2 separate regions of the Homo sapiens genome follow, and region 2 is linked to region 1. Evidence: promoter capture Hi-C in human tissues and cell types (Jung and others, 2019). All regions are on one chromosome and are shown on one strand. Each heading gives the region's core, a stretch centred on a gene start or on the middle of the fragment in contact. The rest is flanking DNA. Distances are from core to core; before and after follow the strand shown. Region 1 holds the start of DDB1 (damage specific DNA binding protein 1). Region 2 has its middle 46 kb from the start of SYT7.

What was found. The method cuts DNA at HindIII sites, captures the fragments that hold promoters and counts their contacts. A contact is called where the count stands out against the background at its distance.
Region 2: a contact is called between a fragment that was not itself captured here and the fragment with the promoter of DDB1 in region 1, in 1 of the 25 tissues and cell types used here (aorta).

The regions. Positions count from the first base shown.
Region 1 is chr11:61,331,071-61,338,219 of GRCh38, reverse strand. DDB1 (damage specific DNA binding protein 1) reads left to right here and starts at 5,115. Exons shown (of 27, transcript NM_001923.5): 1 at 5,115-5,312; 2 at 6,529-6,677. The coding sequence starts at 5,252. TKFC (triokinase and FMN cyclase) reads right to left here and starts at 4,992. Exons shown (of 18, transcript NM_015533.4): 1 at 4,891-4,992; 2 at 3,489-3,600; 3 at 90-279. The coding sequence starts at 3,491. RefSeq lists enhancers at 4,508-5,030, 5,031-5,553 and a silencer at 4,853-5,112. The HindIII fragment of the contact is 10,331 bases long and covers 1-6,478 here.
Region 2 is chr11:61,623,093-61,630,111 of GRCh38, reverse strand. It overlaps the pseudogene RPLP0P2. Among named protein-coding and RNA genes, the nearest start is that of SYT7, 46 kb to the right of the region's middle. RefSeq lists enhancers at 488-1,469, 2,825-3,385, 3,386-3,948 and a silencer at 1,661-1,955. The HindIII fragment of the contact is 8,232 bases long and covers 1,625-7,019 here.

The sequences.
Region 1 (7,149 bases), core at 3,866-6,365:
CCATCCTGCACTTCATGGCAGCACTAAGGATCCCCCAGGAGGCCCTGTCCACTCCACTAGTACCCCCTGCCCCACCCCAGGATACTCACCAGCATGGGCAGGCTCATGGCCAGAGCCCCCACCCGACAGCAGTGCCACCCGGCCCTTGAGGCTGTCCAGGTCAGAACGGAGGGCCACGCGGTGGCCCTGCAGGAGCTGCAGGTTGGGGTTGCAGGCCACCAGGCCAGCAAGAGCGTCATCAGCACAGCCAGCCACCGAGTTCACCAGCTTCTTGGAGGTCTGCAAGGGAGGAGTGAGAAGGAGGTCAGAATGTGGTCAGTACAGATACCCCCATCCTGCGCAGCCACACTGCTGTGGTGTAGACCCCTCTCCCGCATCCACCTAGGAACTCCAGGAGCACAGGACTTCCTTGAGTTGGGCGACATCTTAGGTGGGTATTTCTGTGAGTTTTCAGTAATGTGTGACTTTCTATTCAGTACCTAATTTATGAAGTGTCTTGCACCATACCTTCAATTTATTCTGAAAAAATGGCTGCAATACAAAGAAAATGGGGGAGTGGTTGCCTGCAGTGTAAAATATTTTAATAAAACTGGGGCCCAACACCTTCTTCTGTCAAAAGGAAGAAAAGCCTCAGGCTGAGGCTCCTATGCTGGGGGAGGAGCTGAGCAGGTTCCACAGCCACCGCTGCTCCCTGGTGCTCCAACGCGGGGCAAACATTTCCCCAGCCTCTTGGTATGCCAGGCCCAGCACTAGACACTATGTGTAGAGATAACAGCTCAGGTGCAGTGGCTCATGCCTGTAATCCCAGCACTTTGGGAGGCTGAGGCAGGCAGATCGCCTGAGTCCAAGACTTTGAGACCGGCCTGGGCAACATGATGAGACTCCATCTCTACAAAAAATATGAAAAATGATCCAGGCATGGTGGTGCATGCCTGGAGTCCCACTAGTCGGAAGGCTGAGGTGGGAGGATCACTTGAACCTGGGAGGTCATGGCTGCAGTAAGCTGTCATCGTGCCACTGCACTCCAGCCTAGGTGACAGAGTGAGACTCCATCTCGGAAATAAAAAAAGAGATAACAATGCTGTTCCTGCCCTCAGTGGAAACACAGCAGAGGTCACAGCCATGTGTAGTGGGCACTGCTACACGAGGAGCGCACGTGCACCATGGGAGCATAGAGGAGGGGCCGCAGCCTCCCGAGGGGCCTGGAGGTCTCTGGGAAGGATAAGCAGGACCGGGGTAGGGAAAAAGGGGGCAGGAGACATGGGAGGAGGGAAAAGGGAGGCTCTTCCAGCCAGAGGGGGAGCATAAGCCAAGGCCTGGATGAGTGAATAGTGTGGTGGTGCCAGGAAGCACGGGTGACCAGCAGGAAGGGGTGGGGAGGAGAGGACTGGCCACAGGCAGCCTCAGGAGGGGTTGTGGACAGGCTGGTGGAGGGTTACAGAGCAGTGCCGCCAGGCTTGGCTGAGTGGATACAGGGTGCAGACAGAAGTGAGTAGCGTGGGGGCCAGAATGGAGTGTGGCTTGAGCTCTGCTGTTACAGGGACTTGGGTTCAAATCCCACTTCTGCCTCTCATTAGCTGCAGGAACTCAGGGAAGATACATCATTGTCGGGAGCTAAAATTCTTCCTCTGTAAAATAGGGATTTACTAGAACAGAGTATATGCCCATGATATAGTGGAAACTCAATCAAATGAAGCTACTCCCTTTTTCAAACAGGCTGTGAAAAGCCAGAGTCTGCTGAACAAGGGCTGCAGCCCCTGGCTTTGTCCTGAAGACAGAGTGAGACTGGGGCCCAACGTGGACTCAGAGGGCTGGGCTCCCACCGCCACCTGGTGGCCCGGTGGGAACCTGCAGCTGAGCCAGGTCCTGGCAAGGTGAACTTCCGGCTGTGGCTTCTTCCTGAGCTTGCTAGCACCAGCTCCTTTGTACAAAATTTGGCTCTGCTGCCTCCCTGCCAACCTGTCCTGCATCCAGCCAGGGCCAGGGCTAAGCCACCTGCTTCAGAGTAGCCTAGGTCTGTAGGGAGCAAGAAGAACAATAAGATTGGTTCCATTTGCTGAGCAGTGACTAAGAGCCAGGCCCAGTTCTAAGTGTTTTTGAGCATGTCTCATTTAATCTTCCCAACAGGCCGGGTGTGGTAGCTCATGCCTATAATCCCAGAACTTTGGGAGGCCAAGGCGGGTGGATCACCTGAGGTTGGGAGTTCGAGACTAGCCTGATCAACATGGAGAAACCCCATTTCTACTAAAAATACAAAATTAGCTGGGCGTGGTGGCACATGCCTGTAATTCCAGCTACTCGGGAGGCTGAGGCAGGAGAATTGCTTGAACCTGGGAGGCGGAGGTTGTGGTGAGCCGAGATTGCGCCATTGCACTCCAGCCTGGGCAAAAAGAGCAAAACTCCGTCTCAAAAAAAAAAACCCAAACTAAAACAAAACAAAACTTCCCAACAGCCCTATGGAGGAAAGATGAGCCCAGTGAGGAAACTGAGGCACAGTTAAACTATTTTGCCCAAGGTCACACAGCCAGCAGGTGTCCAGGTCTGCCTGGCTCCAAAGCTGGTTCCCTTTTGGCCATATCATGCTGCTTTCTCGAGGGGCTGGAGGGAAGTGGAGGGTGACAGAGGTTGCCCTAGAAAGGACATGGGTTTGTGGCTCTCAGAGCCTACCAGGGACTGGAACACACAATGAAGTTGTGAGTTGGCCTCACTCCAAGCCCAGCCTCCAGCAGCACTACCCTCCAAGAAAGTGGCCTGCTCCCCATCATGATAATCTGTCTTTTACAGAGCCAGAAGAGGGTTTAGGGACCAGTGCTATCCCTGGTTTCAGTGGCCTGAAAGGATGGAAAAGGAAAGGAAGTCAAGTGAGGCCTCCAGGACTCTGCTTGATCAACACCACACAACCACTGGAGGTAGGCCTTAATTTGCCTTATAATGCAGATGAAGAAAAAGAGGCGCAGAGAGGTCTGTAAAAGGTCATGCAGCTGGTCAGTGGCAGGCTGAAATTTGAATCCAGATATGTTCAAGGCTTGTTTTGGTTCAAATCAGTGGGCCTGGAGCAAAGCCCAGGGACATGGCCAGCCTCCCACACTGTAGATCCCAGCTCCAGACCGGCCCACATAAGCCCCAAGGTTAGGAACGGTCACATGGTCATTCTTCACGATTCCTTCTGTGACCGGTACAATGTCTATTACAGAGCAGGTAACTGTTACTGTTTTACTCTGAATGCAAGACCCAGATAAGGGGCAGAGTGGCTCTGAAGGGACTCAAGAGGCTGCAGCCCCAGGCCTGGCTGGGACCAGCAGCCTCCAGGAAACAAAGAAAAGCAGGGATCAGACCCTGGGAGAGAGGATGACCCTCTCTCTTCACCCGTGAGCCTCAGGAGGCAATAGCATCTCTCAGTCAAAGTGTAAGGAGCTTTAGCTTGCCCAAGGCTGGGATCCTGCTTTGAGACCATGCTGCCATTCCCGTCCCGGCCCTGTATGACTCACCATGGTGTGGAGGCTCTGAAACAGGCTGAGTTCACACCGTTGCACTGAGCTGCTGGAGGATGGACAATCCTGTGCTACCTGGGTCTGAGTACAGTGGAGGCAGCAGCAGCACCTGCAGGAGTGGGTAACGATACAAGCTGCGGAAGGAACTCGCAGTCGACTGGCACAATCACGCCTTCAGCACCCTAGTAATTAGGGAGCTGCCCCAGACTTCGGTCCAAGTCCAAACTCTAGTACATGGGCTACGGATGGAGAAGAGTGTGGGGCTGACCAAGGTTCATGCCTGCACTTCACTGCCAGAAGACAGATCAATCCATGTCAAGCACAGGTCTGCCTTTATGTCCAGGAACAGCACCCACTTCATCACTAAAGGACAGTGATCCTCAGAATAACTATCTTTTACACGGGCATCACATGCAGCGAAAAAGTTAACAAAGCTCGTCACACGCTTGCCCTCACTGGCCTTGGCACCAAAAGGGAAGGGAATGGGGGGAGCTAGCCAGGTTTGTGACCCATTTTACTTCTGGGAAACAGACTCAGAGAGCTCTAGGGACTTGTCCAAGGTAATACAGGTAACAGCCAGAATCTAAACCAATGTCTAGTTTTTCTACAGAGTGTGTTTTTACTACTGATAATTCAGTGCCTCCAAAGTCAGGCAGAGTCTCTGCTATGGGAAAGGCAAGATGTAAACCACGATGACTTTCTAGCTTTTCCTCAGTTCAGCCTGGTTCAGCAGCGTGTTGGCCTCTGTGTGGGTGCACAATAGGAAGAATCAACATAGCTCTGCCTCAGCCTACTTGGGGTTGTGGGGAGGGTCTTAGGTAAACCAATTCCTCCCTAAGCCTCAGCTTCCTCATCTGTAAAATGGGGGTTGGCTCCTCTCTGGCATTCTGCGAGTGTGCCAAGCCACGTGGTATTCCTCTTGTTCCCGGGGAGCCTGTTTGATGTGGGGTACCCTGGAGGCTGCAGGGCTGACGGCTCTCCTGGCTCATTAAGGTTCCCTACGGAGAAATACTGGTTTTGTGTTTGAGGTTCGAATTTGTAGAGCAATAGGGGCACTAATAACGTTGGGCAAGCAGACCGGTGGGCCCTTTGAAGTCTGAAGAATCAACGCGCAAAAGGGAGGAGGTGAGCAGGTGGTCGTTCAAACGTCAGGCGAGGGCACCAGCTGGATCTGGAGGAACTGAGACAGTGAAAGGAAAGCAGGCAAGGTTCTAGTCTGGGATATGCACGAATCGCGGTCTCCCTTCCCTCTCTATGCCTCCGCAGTCCTTCCCGTTCCCAAAGGAGGAACAGCCCGAGGGCTCCTGGAGCAACGGAAGGAGGACTGGATGCGGGGAAGGGCAAAGGGCGCGGAACGGGGTGGGGAGTCTGCGGGCGAGCTCGGAGGACACTGGCGCACCTCCCCCGCCGGCTCACGGCCGCATCCGCCACATCCGAAGGCGCCGCGACTTCCCGGAGACCCCGAAGCGTGCGCTCTCATCCGGGTCCTGCGGGCGCTGGCGGAAAGAGGCGAGGCGGTGCCTCCGGGGGCGGGGCCTCCTTCGGTTGGCGGCCTCGGGCTTCGGGAGTCCTCCAAGAGGCCAGGTGAGGCCGTCCCGTGATGCCCCGCGCCCCGGCCGCTCTGGCCTGCAACGTGTCTCTGGGGCGGAGGCAGCGGCAGTGGAGTTCGCTGCGCGCTGTTGGGGGCCACCTGTCTTTTCGCTTGTGTCCCTCTTTCTAGTGTCGCGCTCGAGTCCCGACGGGCCGCTCCAAGCCTCGACATGTCGTACAACTACGTGGTAACGGCCCAGAAGCCCACCGCCGTGAACGGCTGCGTGACCGGTGAGGCTGCCGGGGCCGGAGACCCCGGCGAGTGAGGGAGTTGGGGGGAGCCGCGGCCTAGGGAGGCCCGCCGCCCCGGGGGCGGCCGGGCAGGAGTGGGCCCGGCGAATGGAAGGCGCTGGCGGCCGAGGAACCTCCCCCAGCACCGCGACCTCGAAAGAGTCGTCCCTGTACGCGCTTTTTGGGGGTTGGAAGCCGCTCTCGAGGGTCCCCTTTCGTCCTGGGGAGGTCATTCGGCCTCGAGAACAGGGCGGGCCCAGTGAGACAGAGGAGTGTGAGTTGGTTGTGCGGTGTCGTTTGGGCCCGGAGATTGGCTTTCTGTGGCCAGGAAAAGGGGAGGTGGTAATGACGACTTTGGGGTCAAGATTTTCCTGTGGGGAAGTCTGGGGGGCCCAGGAGGTGGAGGGATGTGAGGAATGCCCGCATTATCCCACAGAGGGAGAGGAGCCCTCTTCAGGCTAACCCCTTTGCCTGGGGCTGTTGTTTACATGAGGGCCCTGCTGGAGAAGAGGGTTTGGTTTGCCTGGCCCAGTGCTGGGTTTGCCTTGTTGACGATGCGCTTGGATTGTTAAGGACACCGATGTTCAGAACCCGGGAAGAGTCATCTTAACCCACATTCTCAGCTGAATATGCAGACCCCAAGCTTGCATGTTTATATACACCCTAATCATGATTCCAAAACAAAACTGTTGTTCAGAGTTGGAGGTAGCTGAGTGTGGATGGAGGTATTGGTAGACTGCCAGGAGGGCAGGGGGTGTGGACAAAACAGTGTTTTCATATAAAGCTCTGGGACTTCTTCATTTGACTTGGTCTGTCAGATAAAAGTTTTGTGAGACTTTAGATGAAGACTGGAAGAAGTGAACACTTTCTCCGGCATTCTCAATTAGAGCCTGCCACTGTAACTGTAATAGAGTAAAATTGGAGGGGCAAGAGGCATGAGAAGGGATTACGCAGTCATTGTCATTTGGAGGACACACGGCTCTTAGGTCCAGTCCAGTTTTCTTAGTCTGATTAGGGAAGTAGCTTTGTTGAATGCATGAACTGAGACTCTTTGAGGTGCCGGATTTGGCAAGAAGGGGAGTAGCTGGAGGGAGTTGGAGAAGTATGTGAAGTAAATGAGAATTCTGGAGGTATTTAGACATAAGTGATAGGATTATTTTGAAGGGATGGGAGGCCCTTCCCCTGAGTTCAAAAGTTAGAGGGTCTGTTCTTTCAGGACACTTTACTTCGGCCGAAGACTTAAACCTGTTGATTGCCAAAAACACGAGATTAGAGATCTATGTGGTCACCGCCGAGGGGCTTCGGCCCGTCAAAGAGGTGGGCATGTATGGGAAGATTGCGGTCATGGAGCTTTTCAGGCCCAAGGTAAGTGTTGCAGTTGGGACAAGCAGTGGAGGGGGAACTGTTGGTCGTAGGTTGTTTTATGTTATTTTTGTTTGTTTATTTATTTTCTTTGAGACGGGGGTCTCACAGTGTTGCCCAGGATGTCTTGAACTCCTGAGCTCAAGCAATCCCTCCACTTTAGCCTCTGGAGTAGAGTAGCTGGGGTATTGTAGGCATGCCACCGTGCTTGGGCTGTGTTAGGTTGTTTTGCGAATTCTTGGGATGGGTGGAATATGCTTTAGGAGAAAAACTCTTCTCTTTTTTCTCTCTTTGGATAGCAAATTTCAGTATGTACTCTTGACCAAGCTTTCTAGAAGTAAAAGGAGAGATTCATTAGGGAAACATTTATGAAGTTGACTTCTTTAGAAGGGAGAAATTAAAGCAGTTTGTTTCAGAGGATAGGCTACAGAGTGGGGCAGTCCTGGCTTCATTTCTTGTTAATTCTGACTTTAGG
Region 2 (7,019 bases), core at 4,491-6,990, 290 kb before region 1:
GCCTTGCAAGTGAGCTGGTGTTTGTCAGGAGAGTGGGGTGAAGGCAAAAGGCGGTGGCAGCAGGGGGATTCCAGGCAAGGGGGATAGCATCTGCAAAGCCAAGGAGGTGTTGGGGGCTATGTCCCCCTCAGTGCGGGCAGGGGCTAGGTGAGCTGGGAGAAGAGGGAAAGGTGAGGGTGGGAAGAGGCGGTGAGGAAAGAGCAGAGAGACTGTGAAAGTCCAGTTCAGCTGGGAAGCAGGGAGGGGGTGAGCGTCTCCATCGCCTCCCAGAGCCATCTCGCCCAGGGGCAGGTTACCAGCTTCAGGCCCTTGTCCTCACTCCCCACCCCCTGCCCCACCCCCCACTGCTTGGTGGGGGCCTTGGGCAAGGCCATCCGGTCGGGAAGGGGGACATGTTCCTTCTCTGCTCCCCCAGGGGCCCTATGGCTCCCACTAATTGTTCACAGTTCATACCCTTGGCTCTCCGCCCCCCTCCCCCAGGGCCTGCCTGGGCGCTTCTCCTTTGCCCTCACCCTTGTGTGTGTGTGTGTGTGTTGTTGTGTGAGTCCTGAAGGTCATGTGGTCACCCAGTCTCTGTCTTTGTCTGTCTAAAAGCTAGTATGGCACAGTGTGCATGTGTTTATGAACACGTCCCTCCCACCCGAGGGTTCCTAGCCTCAGAGTCAAGTCCCCCTGGGCCTTTCAAGGCTGTAAGAGGTGATTCTAGGGGCTACAGCAATAGAGACCCAGCCAGAGGGAGCAGGAGGGCTCCAGCCCACAATTCCAGGAGCCCCACGGCCAGCCACCTCCGGAGGAACACACGGCCTACGTGAAAATAGCCCGCGGCACAGCCACAGCACCTGGCGTGGCTGAATTCCTCTCCTGCCCCGCTCAATGCCCAGCACCAGCCCGACACTGCCGTAGAGGAACTCGGGAGCTGCTTGCATTTCAGAAAGGGCCCCTTCACCACAGTTAGAGAGCAAATAAATGGGTCCTCTGGGGCTGGGGCTGGGGCTGGGATTCCCTCTGTAGCCCCCTTCCCCACTGTGGAGGCCCCTTTCCTCCACACACCCTCACCCCTGCAATTCCTTACCTGGAGCAGAAACAAGGTTCTACCCAGGCCATGGGGCCTGGCCATGCAGGTCAGCCCTGGGTCCTGGTGGAGGACCCAAAGTCTCCCTGCTGAGGACCAACGTCCGGTGGCCCTAGCTGGGGTGACATCACACAAGGGGCTCGCACAAGGCTTCTGTCTTCCAGGAAGGAGATGGGAAGAGAGATCTCCCTGCAAAGGCTGGAAAAGAAATCACGTCCCAGAATTGTTGGCAGAAGGTTAATTGGATGCATTTGTAAGCTTGTTCCTGGGACAGGCATGTTAATAGCACTAAAACATCTGAAAACTTCCAGAGCTACACGGAGGAGTTAATAGGCCTGGAGAGTCCAAGGTTACATTGAGGCACCTCCCAGCAGTGGAAAGAGCAGTGGACCAGGAGCCTGAGAGCCTGAACCCCTGGCTCCTCACCACATCTCACTGTGGTCCCCAGGCAAGCCCTGGCCTCTCTAGACCTGGAAAACATTAGTGTGGAAGGCGGGTCGCCTGGGTCGTCCGAAGGAAGCCTCACTGTGGTCTTGTGTGGTGATGTTATCATTATTTCCGTTTTGTGGAAGAGGAAACTGAGATTCCTCAAATGAGGTGCAATTTGCCACTGCTGGTGCTGGGGTCAGTACTGGAGCCTGACTGCATGCCAAGGGCTAAAATCACAGGGCTGGACCAAGGGCCAGCCAGAATAGACGTTCCCTTGGTGTCCACTGGGAGGCGCCCTAGACTGCTTCTCCTAGTTGGCACCAGCACCTGAATCCCTCAGCCAGAGTGGTTTCCCCTGAGTGATCTCTGGACAAGGTGGGACTGGGGGCTGCCAGCTCCTGGGGCAAGGTCAGGAAGCTTCCTGGTCCTCCCTCCCCATCCTAGCCACCTCCATGAAGGAGCCTCCTGCTCTCACCTTCCAAGGGCAAGGGAGGGAAGAGTGAGGTTTCAAACCTTCCCTCCTCAGGCCCCTGGGGAGCCCATGTATCAGATTGGAGTCAGCTATAAATGTCAGAGGCTCAGAGAGGGTTAGTCACTTGCCCCAGGTCACATAGTCACGTCCGTCTGATTCTGAAAACCTAAACTTGGTCCTGATTCAGGCGAGGCTCACGGCAGATGTGGTGGGATTCCGTCGGTCACATGGCCCACAGCAGGCAAGAAGGTGCTGGTCAGCTGGGCCTGCAAGTCCCACTGGTGGCAAAAGGGCTGAGTCTCGTAGAGGGGGTTCCTACAGTCACTTGAGGGTCCAGGGCTGCGTGCAGGTAGTCAGGGCCAGGCATGGGAGCTCGTGAAAGGGCAGGAGGAGGCATTCAGCCAGTGGATGTCCTTGGCATCAGGGTCCGTGTCTGTATCTGAAAGTGGGCATGTAAGTGGGGGATGGGGTGGAGGCAGAGGGCTGCGGCTCAGGCCCAAGACCCCAGGTCATGCTCGCTCAGAATTCAAGTTTGTCAGCTTGTTAGAAGAATGAGGATGGTGACAGCCGGGGATCTGGGGAGGAAGGAGGCCTTTGGAGATGGGAGTTGGGGAGGCTGTGATTGGGGGATGTTGAGCAATGGCTTGAGGAAGTCGAAGGATCAACCTTCCCGAGTATTCCGAGTTGGTCTGGAGCTGACGGGGAGTGGCTGGGCTGGGTGAGGGGAGGTGACAGTGACATTGAGTTTGGGGACACAGTGCTCATCTCTCCCTGCTGGGCTTTCTGGAAGGTGGAGGACAACAGGAGGGAAGCCGAGCATCCCAGGACAGAGCTTTGCAAAGTTACAGCTGGTTCCTGCCCTCTATACTCAACTCTAGCAACTGTGACTCTCTCCTAGAGCAAGCCTGACCCTACTGAGACCCCTACCAACATAGAGACCACCTAACCCAACCCGTTACTCAGGTCACCTCACCACAGCAGAGGCAGGAGCAGGCCCAGGGCTGGAGAGAAGCCCATCCCCAGGCCCCAGGGCTCACAGCAAAGCCAAGGAGACAAGCAGCCACCAGGTGCACCGGATTAAGGCTGTCCAGGTAGGGGGCTCCATTTCCCCGTAGACAGAGGTAGCCAAGGGGACTATAGGGCTAGAGGAGGCATCCTGGAAAATCCCAGCCCTTCCCCAGCAGGTCACAGAACCGGCTCTCCCAGCTGAGGCCCTTCCCTCCCAGCAACATGTCCAGGGGCACCTGACTTGAACTATAAATAGAGGATGACGGAAGGCTCCGGAAGCCCAAGGGAGGGCAGGAGAAAGGAATTCTGATTCTCCCCCAGCGAGGCCCTGCAAGGCTGCACTGACAGAGCAATCTCTTCGAGGTTGGATAGGAGTGCCCCTGGCATTGGAGGTCCAGGAGGGCCATTCAGGCAGAAGGAACAGTCTGGGGAAGCAAGGAATGGAGCAGGCAGGTGGCTCTGAGAGGCTGGACACAGGCTGCAAGGGACTGCGGCAGTTCCTGAGACCCAGTGGCCAAGGGCCCTGAATGTCAGGCTAAGGGCTTTGTTCTGGAGACCTGAGTCTTGGTCTCAGGGCCGTTCTGGTTTTGTGGTGAGGAGTTAAGAGTAACACACAATGGGGGGAGGGGGGAGGGATAGCATCGGGAGATATACCTAATGCTAGATGACGAGTTAGTGGGTGCAGCGCACCAGCATGGCACATGTATACATATGTAACTAACCTGCACAATGTGCACATGTACCCTAAAACTTAAAGTATAATAAAAAAAAAAAAGAGTAACACACAAGGCCGGGTGCAATGGCTCACGCCTTATAATCCCAGCACTTGGGGAGGTTGAGGCAGGTGGTCACTTGAGGTCAGGGGTTCGAGACCAGCCTGGCTAACATGGTGAAACCCTGTCTTTACTAAAAATACAAAAATTAGCTGGGCGTGGTGGTGCACACCTCTAATCCCAGCTACTCGGGAGGCTGAGGCAAAAGAATCGCTTGAACCTGGGAGGCGGAGGTTGCAGTGAGCTGAGATTGTGCCACTGAACTCCAGCCTGGGCAACAGAGCAAGATCCCATCTCAAAAAAAAAAAGAGTAACACACAAGAACATGTAACATACAAGAACAAGGTCACCTGGAGCAGAGTACCAGAAAGTACATGGCCATCTTTCCCCGTGGAATGGAGGAATACCATGGTGTGCCAGAGACTATAACTATTCCCCAACATCTGTTCTGTCTTCTTTGCCACGGAACCCCTGATTTTTGCTGGGCAAACAACCCCCTGAAATACAAGCTACATTTCCCAGCCTCCCTTACAGCCAGGTATGGCCATGTGTATAAGTTGTAAGAAGAAGTGCCACTCAGAGGCAGCAGGTTGCACCCTGTTACCTCTTCTCCCTTTCTGCTGGAAAGGAATATGCATGTGATTGCTCGAGCAGGAGCAGCTATCTTGGATCATGAGGTAGAAGCCCCATGTTAAGGATGACCAAGCCACAAGAAGGAAGTGATCTGGGTTTCTGATGTTTGTGGAGCTGCCACACCAGCCCTGGACCAGAACCTCCAAATATTGTTTACTCGAGAGAAAAATAAACTTCTATATTATAGTTTACCACACAGTTTCTTAAGTTTTCCTTCAGATGAACATAACCTAAGCACATACAGGAAAGGAATTAGCCTCGAAAGAAGAACCTCAGAATTTTATACGTCTTTTTTTTTTTTTTTTTTTTTTTGAGATGGAGTCTTGCTCTGTCGCCCAGGCTGGAGTACAGTGGCACGATCTCAGCTCTCTCCAACCTCTGCCTCCTGGGTTCAACTGATTCTCCTGCCTCAGCCTCCTGAGCAGCTGGGACTACAGGCACCCACCACCACGCCCGGCTAATTTTTTGTATTTTTAGTAGAGACAGGGTTTCACCATGTTAGCCAGGCTGGTGTCAATTTCCTGACCTCGTGATCCGCCCACCTCGGCCTCCCAAAGTGCTCGGATTACAGGCGTGAGCCACTGCGCCTGGCCTTACCTTTTAAGTATTAAGAGGTATGCTCTGATTACATTCCACATATCGTCTCTCATGAACTTGCTGCAGAACCTTCCTTCCAGGTGTAGGGGTGGAAAAGGCATGATACCTCTTCTCATCCATCATAAGGGTCACGGCTGACACTCCTATACCAAAAGACAGAGAGAAGTTAACAAGAGAAGAGCATAACAAATGTATTTAATCAAAGTTTTACATGACATGGGGGCCTTTGGAAATGAAGACCCAGGCCAGGCGTGGTGGCTCATGCCTATAACCCCAACACTTTACGAGGCCGAGGTGGGTGGATCACTTGAGGTCAGGAGTTCAAGATCAGCCTGGCCAACATGGTGAAACTCTGTCTCTACTAAAAATACAAAAAATTACCTGGGCATGGTGGTGCACACCTGTAGTTCCAGCTACTCGAGAGGCTTGAGACATTAGAATTGCTTGAACTCAGGAGGTGGAGGTTGCAGTGAGCTGAGATCATGCCACTGCACTTCATTCAGCCTGGGCAACAGAGCAAGACTGTGTCTCAAAACAAACAAACCAAAAAAAAGAAAAAGGAAAAGAAATGAATACCCAGACTGTACAGTACCTTTTTATGCAAAGGTTCGATGAAGAATGGACAGTCATATAGGAATGTGATTGGACCAGCTGGGCACAGTGGCTCACACCTGTAATCCCAGCACTTTGGGAGGCCAAGGTGGGTGGATTACTTGAGATCAGGAGTTCGAGACCAGCCTGGCCAACATGGTCAAACCCCATCTCTACTAAAAATATAAAAATTATCTGTACTTGGTGGTGGGCACCTGTAATCCTAGCTATTTGAGAGGCTGAGGCACAAAAATCACTTGAACCCAGGAGTTGGAGGTTGTAGTGAGCCGAGATCTCACCACTGCACTCCAGCCTGGGCAACAGAGTGAAACTCCATCTAAAGAAAAAAGTGATTGGAGGCCGGGCGCGGTGGCTCACACTTGTAATCCCAGCACTTTGGGAGGCCGAGGCAGACGGATCACGAGGTCAGGGGATCGAGACCACGGTGCAACCCCACCTCTACTAAAAATACAAAAAATTAGCTAGGTGCGGTGGTGAGCACCTGTAGTCCCAGCTACTCGGAGAGGCTGAGGCAGGAGAATGGCGTGAACCCGGGAGGCGGAGCTTGCAGTGAGCCGAGATTGCGCCACTGCACTCCAGCCTGGGTGACAGAGCGAGACTCCGTCTCAAAAAAAAAAAAAAAGTGATTGGAACAAAAGAGTATGACCTAAAGGTAATAGGCCAAGGGAAGGAACCCAGCGAGGCCTGTGTGTGTACATTCTTCTTGGCCTGTCTGCCATATTCCTTATTTCTGGGTATGGAGCAGGACCCCGCTGGAGCGAGGGTCTTACGGCCTACTATCAGACCAAGTGGAGTCAGAGAATTTCCTTATGGCCAGCTGCTACACAGAAAAGCAGGGGAAGGTAAGAGTAATAGTTCTATTTTCTTTTCTTCTTCTTTTTTTTTTTTTCTTGAAACAGAATCTCTGTCACCCAGTCTGGAGTGAAATGGCACAATATCAGCTCACTGCAAACTTCACCTCCTGGGTTCAAGCGATTCTCCTACCTCAGCCTCCCAAGTAGCTGGGACTGCAGGCGTGCGCCACCATGCCTGGCTAATTTTTGTATTTTTAGTAGAGACGGAGCTTCACCATGTTAGCCAGGCTGGTCTCAAACTCCTGACCTCACGTCAGGCTGGATCTCAGCTCACTGCAACCTCTGCCTCCTGGGTTCAAGAGATTCTCCTGCTTCAGCCTCCTGAGTAGCTGGGACTACAGGCACACGCCACCACATCTGGCTAAGTTTTGTATTTTTAGTAGACACAGATTTCACTGTGGCCAGGCTGGTCTCAAACTCCTGACCTCACGTCATCCACCCGCCTCGGCTTCCCAAAGTACCGGGATTACAGGCATGAGCCACCACATCCGGCTCCCAATATTTCTACTTTCTATGACCTACCTTACGGAAGAGGAATTCTCATTTCTATGGCTGCCTTGGGGGAGAAA